Linked DNA regions of Homo sapiens: region 1 is linked to region 2. Evidence: promoter capture Hi-C in human tissues and cell types (Jung and others, 2019). All regions are on one chromosome and are shown on one strand. Each heading gives the region's core, a stretch centred on a gene start or on the middle of the fragment in contact. The rest is flanking DNA. Distances are from core to core; before and after follow the strand shown. Region 1 overlaps LRBA (LPS responsive beige-like anchor protein). Region 2 holds the start of DCLK2 (doublecortin like kinase 2).

Region 1 (4,272 bases), core at 469-2,968, 210 kb after region 2:
GATGGGATAAGTAAGCAACGAATTGGAAACAGCTCCATTCCTAGTCAGATCCTGATTTGTTGCATGTGCTCTAAGCTCGCTTAATATCTTGGGCCTAAATATATAATGCTGTTTCCAGCACAAACCTCCAGGCAAACCAGCTTAAGTATCTTTCTACTCCACTCTCAATGCCACTGTGGCCCCTGCCTCATTAAAACAGACAGGGTCAGGGGCTTCCATTCAGATATAAGACGGAACCTGGCCCAGTAATAGCTCAGAAGAATAAACAAATATACAAAGACGTTCCTTGTTCCTGCTTCAGGGGAATATGAATATTAACAGGATATGTTTGTAAAAACATCTTAAACTCCTTAGAGCAGTGCTGTGAAACAGAACTTTCTACAATGATGGAAATGATCTGTATCTGTGCTGTCCAATGTAGTGGCCACTAGCCATATGTGAGTACTGAGGACCTGCAATGTGGCTAGTGCCACGAAGAAACTTACATTTTAATTTTATTTAATTTTAAATAATTTAAATAGTTCCATATGACTAATGGCTATCATAACAGACAGAAGCTTTAGAAAAAAGGTACCAAATTAATCTTTGGTAATTTGTTTCTAGAAGACAGCAAGAAATGCATCCATTTTGTGAAGGTACCACAGGTTTACCTTGTGAACCACTCAACACCAGGCCTAGCTCCGCACACACCGCAGCACATGTGACCTCATAGTCATGGCCGGTCAAAATGGCCCGAGGAGCAGCAGTCTCACCTTTAGGAAAAAACAGATAAAAAGAACAAATCAATTCAATTTCATGCATATTAAATAATCAACAACTTGCTCCTAATTTCCATCATGCCTATTTAATTTATAGTTTGGGAATTTGTCCAGCAATCCTACTTTAGGACTAGATCCAAGTTACATACTATAGTTTGATTATGAGGGCCACATCCTGCTAAAATGTCAAGTAACCTTTATGTGATTATCAAGCAACAATGGTTGAAAACTCAGGGTTAAATACAACAAAATCTGCATTCCAAAATGCCTCATAAAAAATCAGCCCCTCAATTAGATGTTTTATGGTCAGATGATTATAAAATTAGGAACTTTGGCTCAATTTACATTTCAAAGAAAGGCCTCGCCCCTCCTTCCTCCTTCCTCATCCTTTGTGGGCCGCTGAAACCCATCATAATGAAGACAGTCTGAACTAGACTTCTGCTACCCCCACAGTAATTCTGCAGCCCCTCTCTTAAATATGTATTCTCTCTACTAAGCTTATGTATTTTTCTGATATATAAATTTCATGGATATATTTCTCTGTGGTTCATTCAAATAACCGAAAAAAAACCCAATATAAGAAACACCTAAAAAAAAACCAAACCCTTACAGATAAGTCTACAGATAGTGATTGAAAATGAGGGGCGGTGGGTAGAGAAGGGGGGACAGAGGAGGAGTATCCAAAAACTGGCAGATATTGCCGAATACTTTCACAACTTGAAAGAACAAGTCATCCTGTATGTCTGTCCCAAACTAAAAAGAAAACGTATGGTTGGTTGGTTGGTTGGTTAATAAGGAACCCATCATGACTAAGTAAAATGGTAATGGTCTTGATTTGTGGATGGGTTCGTGCCAAGCCACAAGGATAAACTGGATTCCATGTCTAGCCTGAAGAATATGATTTGAAGACTAAACGGATCCTTTACTTTTATAGTCTCTAAAGGTAAAGATACAAAAAGTCTTTCCAAGTGGAGAGCAGGATTCTATTAGCATTCCCGATTTCTTGATTTGGATTGGTTTTATAGTATGCTTGATAACTAACACTGTGTAATCCAGAAGAGACAAATGTGCCCACAGAGTAAGTGGCTACCACCAGCTATGGAACTCTGTGGAAGAGAATCGCTTGTATCTTAACCCCAGACACCTGACTATCCTTGGAGCAGTCACCCACTCAGAGGAAGGAAGTCCAGCAGCTCAGGGGAAACCCACTGGAAACCTACTGTACTTGGAAAGGCAAATGCTGCTGTCAGAAAACTAACCCGGCTTCCAAAGCAAGGGTTCTTCCAGTAGGTCACTGGGTTATTTGAAATTTTATGCAAAATGTATCTACATGCCTGTTTTTCTAGGTAGCAGGGGAGGAAAATAAGTTTTACTGAATGGACAGAGGTCCATGAACAAGAAAAGGTGAGAGGCTTCTACCCTGAAGGGAGGTCTGGTCTCTGTGCTTGTAGCCCCACTTCACCTGGAGCCAGCAGTCACTTCAGGTCTAGCTTTTCACAGGACAGTTCCAATGCATGTACCAGAGTACATAATGCACGGCCATGTCCCTACAATGTCCTTCAAGGCTTTGGTGACTGTAGGTAATCCTGAGTGAGACTTAAGTTGAAGGAATGCCACACGGAACTTTGCACCACACTGGCGTGCTATGTGCAGCCAGCTGCTGGACCTAGCCTACAGGCTTAGTGATAAAGGGAGACCAAAAATAACATACAAAGAGGCAAGGGGGTAGGCAGAACAAGGGGCTTCGTTTCATTTGATTCCAAGTTTTAACACTTCTTTGGGAGGCAAACTTACCTTAATTAGAAAGTTGACATTTCCCAAGCCACAAAGAATTTGTCACAAGAGCAATTTTGTTTCTTACAAAGTCCAGAAATTTGGGAAAATTTTAAAGAAATAAAGCAAATAATGTAAGCCAATCTGAACTACTTAAGCTTCTGTTAGGATCCACAAATTTTTTTTTTTTTTTTCTGAGACGGAGTCTCACTCTGTCGCCCAGGCTGGAATGCGGTGGTGCGATCTCGACTCACTGCCAGCTCCGCCTTCCAGGTTCACACCATTCTCCTGCCTTGGCCTCCTGAGTAGCTGGGACTACAGGCGCCCGCCACTGCGCCCAGCTAATTTTTTGTATTTTTAGTAGAGACGGGGTTTCACCGTGGTCTCGATCTCCTGACCTCGTGATCCGCCTGCCTCGGCCTCCCAAAGTGCTGGGATTACAGGCGTGAGCCACCGCGCCCAGCCAGGATCCACAAATTTTAGGAAGAAGTATACTGTTTTAAAAAGTTATTGGCCGGGCGCAATGGCTCACGCCTGTAATCCCAGTACTTTGGGAGGCCAAGGTGGGCAGATCACCTGAGGTTACGAGTTAGAGACCAGCCTGGCCAACATGGTGAAACCCTGCCTCTACTAAAAATACAAAAAATTAGTTTGGCGTGGTGGTGTGCACCTCTAACAGGTAGGAGAATTGCTTGAACCTGGGAGGTGGAGGTTGCAGTGAGCCGAGATCACGCCACTGCACTCTAGCCTGGGCAACAGAGCGAGACTCCGTCTCAAAAAAATAATAAAATAAGAAGTTATCAATACTTTAGCCCTGATTCTTGGTTTTCCTTTTCCCCAGAAGGCTGTACATTCCACAAAAATACCATACAATGTTGTTTCTGAAATTACTGTCTAATTAGATCCATTGGCAACTTTTTTTTTTTACCAGCAATTAAAATCACTAAGATCTAAGGAATATATTTTTGGTGTGATTGTTCTTTTTTTTTTTTTTTTTTCTTAAGTTACCATTTCATGGATGGTGAAATTTGTGTTTTAACTTGAATTGTCTTGGAATTCCTCAGTGGAAAGTGAAGGTTTGAAGGAAAGCTGATGGCAAATGAAGGCATTCTAAGTATAAGACAAAGTAAACAAAGGACAGATAGATAATGGTGGTCCCAGAGGATGATGTCACTTAAGAACATCAATGCTAACTTTTTGTTTTCTTGGGAGCATGGTGGAAGAAGGGAGAGGATTGCTGTCAATTTTCTTTCTTTCTTTAATGTAAAAGAGTTGAAATACTGAGCATTTTCTATGACTACAAAGTTAAGAGTTTAGGAAGCCTCGTGATTAACTCCAGAAGGTGGGTTAAGATATAAGCATTATTTTTTTTGTAAACTCGTAAGATTTTTATCATTATGCTTTGTTTACAAAATACTAGTTTCCAATAATCCAAACTTTATTAAATCATTTTTCACTCCACAGATCAGAACACACACACATGCAGAGTAATTTCAAAACTGGAAAAGGATTTCTTCTTTTCCTAGGGCCTGATCTCTAAATAAGGAACTATTCAATGCTAGGACTTTGGCTTCAAAGTTTGGCAAAATGTTTGCTAATCCCGGAAGCAGGTTAGACAGTTCAGGAAATACAAAAGAGAGAGAGAGAAAAAAAGAAAAAGAAATTAAAAGCATAAGGGTAGACTTATGATCATTAGGTTCTCAGGTAACCAGTTTTACAGTCACTGGATTTCCAGTAAAAA
Region 2 (3,958 bases), core at 760-3,259:
TGACAAGGAACTGAGGCCTCCTTACCATTCATGTGAATGGGCTGTCTTGGAAATGGATCTTCTTGACCCAGTCAAGCCTTTAGATGGCTGTGACCCCTGTCAACATCTTGACAGCAATCACATGAGGCTTTGAGGTAAACTGCTCCCAGATTTCCGATCTGCCAAAAATGCTGAGATTATGCATGTTTATTGTTGTAAATCATTAAGTTTAGGATAATTTGTTTCTACAGCAATAGTTTACAAAGTCTTTTTCCCCCTAAGAAATACTAACAGTGATACAAATGAACATGGCCATCTTAAGGCAAGTTGATGGGCTCTGTGGAGTTACTGGTACTTAGATGGAAACTTATCTCAATAAATTTGCAATTTAGTTTCTTGTTTCTCAAAGTCTTGTACCAAGACCAGCAGCATTGGCATTACCCAGGGGCTCATCAGAAATGCAGAATCTCAAACTCCACCCCAGAGCTACAGAATAGCAATCTGCATTTTAACGAGATTCCCCTATGACATGTAAATATATTAAAGTTTGAGAAGAAGCACTGATTTATTTGATTCCTGGTGTTACAGCCTGTGGTTGGAAACTCTGGATATACCTTAGGGGTACTTTTAAAAAAATACTGTTGGAGAAGCCCGTCTCCAGAAATTCTGATTTAACTGATCTAGGTTGAGGCCTTTTAAGGTGGTGGACCTAATGATGCTGCAGGATTTTCCTCTAGAAAAACTACATTGAAGCCTCAGATCAGCTCTGACTTCCTAGCATGCCCCAACCCCGCAGGAAGTTAGGTATGCCCAGGTGTATGCCCAGAACTGCCTTAGGAGTAGTATTGTGCACCGAGCAGGAGACCTTTCTGGAGCTGCCATGAAGGGTGTGTATGCGTGTGTGTGCGTGTGTTTGGTGGGGCGCACCAACTTCACAGATGCTAGACCGTTGCATGTGCTTCTACCTTCTTTTATTCATGCTCTTCCAGGACTCAGTTCAACCCGAAAAAAAGCAACTATGCCTTTCTTCCTGAAAGGTCAGTTTGGATTGCTGTCTAGGGCTGCTCAGAAAACCAGGTGTTGAATGTTCTAAGGTTTCACGTGCCAAATTGGGATCAAACATATTTGAGCTTTATTTTTCCTAATAACAAAATGCAAGTAACTAGTATTTCTCTTAAGTCTTGGAAAAGATGTTTTTATTGTTGAATAGACACTACGGCATTAAGATTTCCACTATGATGGGTGCTCACAAATGATAGGCCTCTTAGGTAAGAAGCTTTAATTGACAACATTAAATATGCGGGGCGGGGGGAGTGGGTGCAGAGTCTCTCTTTCCTTTGTTAGGGCATCCCAGTGACAGAAACAATGCCTGACACATGGTACGCTCTCGATAAATATTCGTTGATTACATAACCCCCTCTACCACCCAATAACTTCTCATCATTCATTCAAAGTTACTGAACGTACCATATTAGCGAATCTGCAATGGAAACAGTGGAGGCTGTTTTCTCAAAGGATTTTCTAATAAAGCAACAAATCTTTTTTAAAAAAAATGAATGGTGTGCCCCAAGTCAATGCTGGGCTTCGGATTTCTGCGGTAGTTTGGCCTGGGGTCCTCACTGGGATGCTGGCTGGGGATGTGCTCCCTGCCCTTGAATCTCCTTCCTTTGTAGTTTTTGGCCTGCGCGGTTACGTTTCCCAGGCGGAGGAGCGCGCGTCGCGGCTGCGCCCATTAACGCGCGGCGCCGGGCAGGAGCCGTCAGGCGGGCGGGGCTGCCCGGGACCCGCAGGAGCTGCTCCTCCCGCGCCGGCGCTCGGCCCCCTCCTCCGCCCCCTCCTCCGCCCCCTCCTCCCCTTCTCCGCGGTTTGGCATCCCCGGGGCCGGGAAGCCTCCTCCAGCGCTGACAGCCTGTCGGCGGCGGAGGGAGGCCAGAGCGCGGATGCTTGCCAGTGGGCCGGGCCTGACCGCTGCGTGGGAGGCGGGCTGCATTATTTCCCGCTAGGGCCGCGCTCCAGGGAAGGAAGGGGCCAGACACGGCCCTCTCAGCCCCGAACGGCGCGCGCTGCCCGGCGGGCGGGATCCGGGCGCGGCCGAGGCGGCGGCGCTGCACCCCGGGCCTGGGCCCGCGCGACTCCCCCGGGGGCCTCTCCCACGCTCCGCGCCCCGCCCCACCCTTCCTTCCTTCCTCCCCTCGGCGCTCCCGGGAGCGCTCGGCAGACGCCCGAGCTTTGTGGGCGCCCGCGGGCCCAGCGCGAGCCTCGGGCGGCCCAACTTTGCCTCTCCCGGTCGGCTCCCGAGCGGGACTTGTGAGGCGTGGCCGGGTGGAGGAGGCGCTTGCGGGGGCGTGGGGCTCCCCGGCAGGCGGGAGGCACGGAGCAAGTCGCACTGGACAATGACCTGGGCAGCTCGGCGCTGCGGACACTTTTAGCTGAGGGCGCGGGCGGGTCGGCTCCTCCGCGGCTCCTCGGCCCCACCTGCGCGGAGAGGGCGGGATGCCAGAGCCAGGTGTCCCGGCGCGTTAAGGGCCCTCGCAGTCAGACGTCCCTGCACCGGCGCTCGCACCCTTAGTCGGCCCGGAACGTCTTTTTGCGGACGCCCTCGGAGCAGCCGCGATGGCCAGCACCAGGAGTATCGAGCTGGAGCACTTTGAGGAACGGGACAAAAGGCCGCGGCCGGGGTCGCGGAGAGGGGCCCCCAGCTCCTCCGGGGGCAGCAGCAGCTCGGGCCCCAAGGGGAACGGGCTCATCCCCAGTCCGGCGCACAGTGCCCACTGCAGCTTCTACCGCACGCGGACCCTGCAGGCCCTCAGCTCGGAGAAGAAGGCCAAGAAGGCGCGCTTCTACCGGAACGGGGACCGCTACTTCAAGGGCCTGGTGTTTGCCATCTCCAGCGACCGCTTCCGGTCCTTCGATGCGCTCCTCATAGAGCTCACCCGCTCCCTGTCGGACAACGTGAACCTGCCCCAGGGTGTCCGCACTATCTACACCATCGACGGCAGCCGGAAGGTCACCAGCCTGGACGAGCTGCTGGAAGGTAGGAGGGGAGGGCGCCGCACGGCAGGTGCGGCGGAGCGCCGGCAGGTGCAGTGGGCGTGAGCCGGCGCAGCGGGGAGCCCGCGGGGTGCTTTCCAAGCCGCACGGGAATTGATGCTTCTGTCTGCTTCTCTAGAGATTGGCTGGGGGTGGGGGCCGGTGGGGTGCCCACATACACACTGACTTTCCTTCCCAAGAGGTTTGTCTCTTAAAGAAGGAAAAAATTTCCTGATGGTCAGGCCAATTTAGGCACTGGTGGCATCTCCTAAGATTGTTGAACTTATTTGTATTGAAGTGCAAACTGTTTGAGAAAATGGTTCTCCCATGGGGAGCTGGGTAATCCCCTACTAATAAGCTCTGTTGGACCCTCGGTGTGGACCCTGGTGCAGGCTCCTGTCATGTTCCAGTATTCGGGGTCCTGTTGTGACTGCTGTCAGAAGCTGTGGTTGTGAAATGCTCTAGGTTGGCTTTCCTAGTTTGCCTTGCAGCAGAAGTTACTTGAGGTGAAGAGGGATGATCCTAGACAGCAGGTCTCAACCTTGGCTTCATCTTGGATCACACTGGGGACTTCGAAAAATATGGGACCCTGATCCCCCAACCCCCAGATATCCTGATTAAATTGGTTGGGTTTGGGGTGTGGGTTAGGCGTCTGGAGTCTCAAAAGCCCCCCCCCCAGGTGATTCTAATGTGGGACCCTGGTTAACAATCACCGTGCTAAAGGGTTTTCCACATTTGGTTGGAAAAAAGGTAAATCAAGGTCAATCTCTCCAGCCTTATCCTCTAATAAGAGTACCTAATTAGAATGATAGAGGCCATTGGATTCAGCAGTGGGGACTTATTAAAAATTAGTAATTCTGCTGTGTCAACCATGCCTCGGTCAAAGAGACTGCTTGGCTGGATGTTGGGTCATCCTTGAATTCCTGCAATACGTATGCCTCATCCTTTT

The links. Contacts are between HindIII fragments. The study calls those that stand out against the background at their distance.
Region 1: a contact is called between a fragment that was not itself captured here and the fragment with the promoter of DCLK2 in region 2, in 2 of the 25 tissues and cell types used here (IMR-90 fibroblasts and hippocampus).

The regions. Positions count from the first base shown.
Region 1 is chr4:150,285,283-150,289,554 of GRCh38, forward strand. It overlaps LRBA (LPS responsive beige-like anchor protein), which reads right to left. Exons shown (of 57, transcript NM_001364905.1): 54 at 651-752. Among named protein-coding and RNA genes, the nearest start is that of DCLK2, 210 kb to the left of the region's middle. RefSeq lists an enhancer at 2,865-3,365. The HindIII fragment of the contact is 4,591 bases long and covers 1-4,014 here.
Region 2 is chr4:150,076,436-150,080,393 of GRCh38, forward strand. DCLK2 (doublecortin like kinase 2) reads left to right here and starts at 2,010. Exons shown (of 16, transcript NM_001040260.4): 1 at 2,010-3,013. The coding sequence starts at 2,593. The HindIII fragment of the contact is 8,036 bases long and covers 487-3,958 here.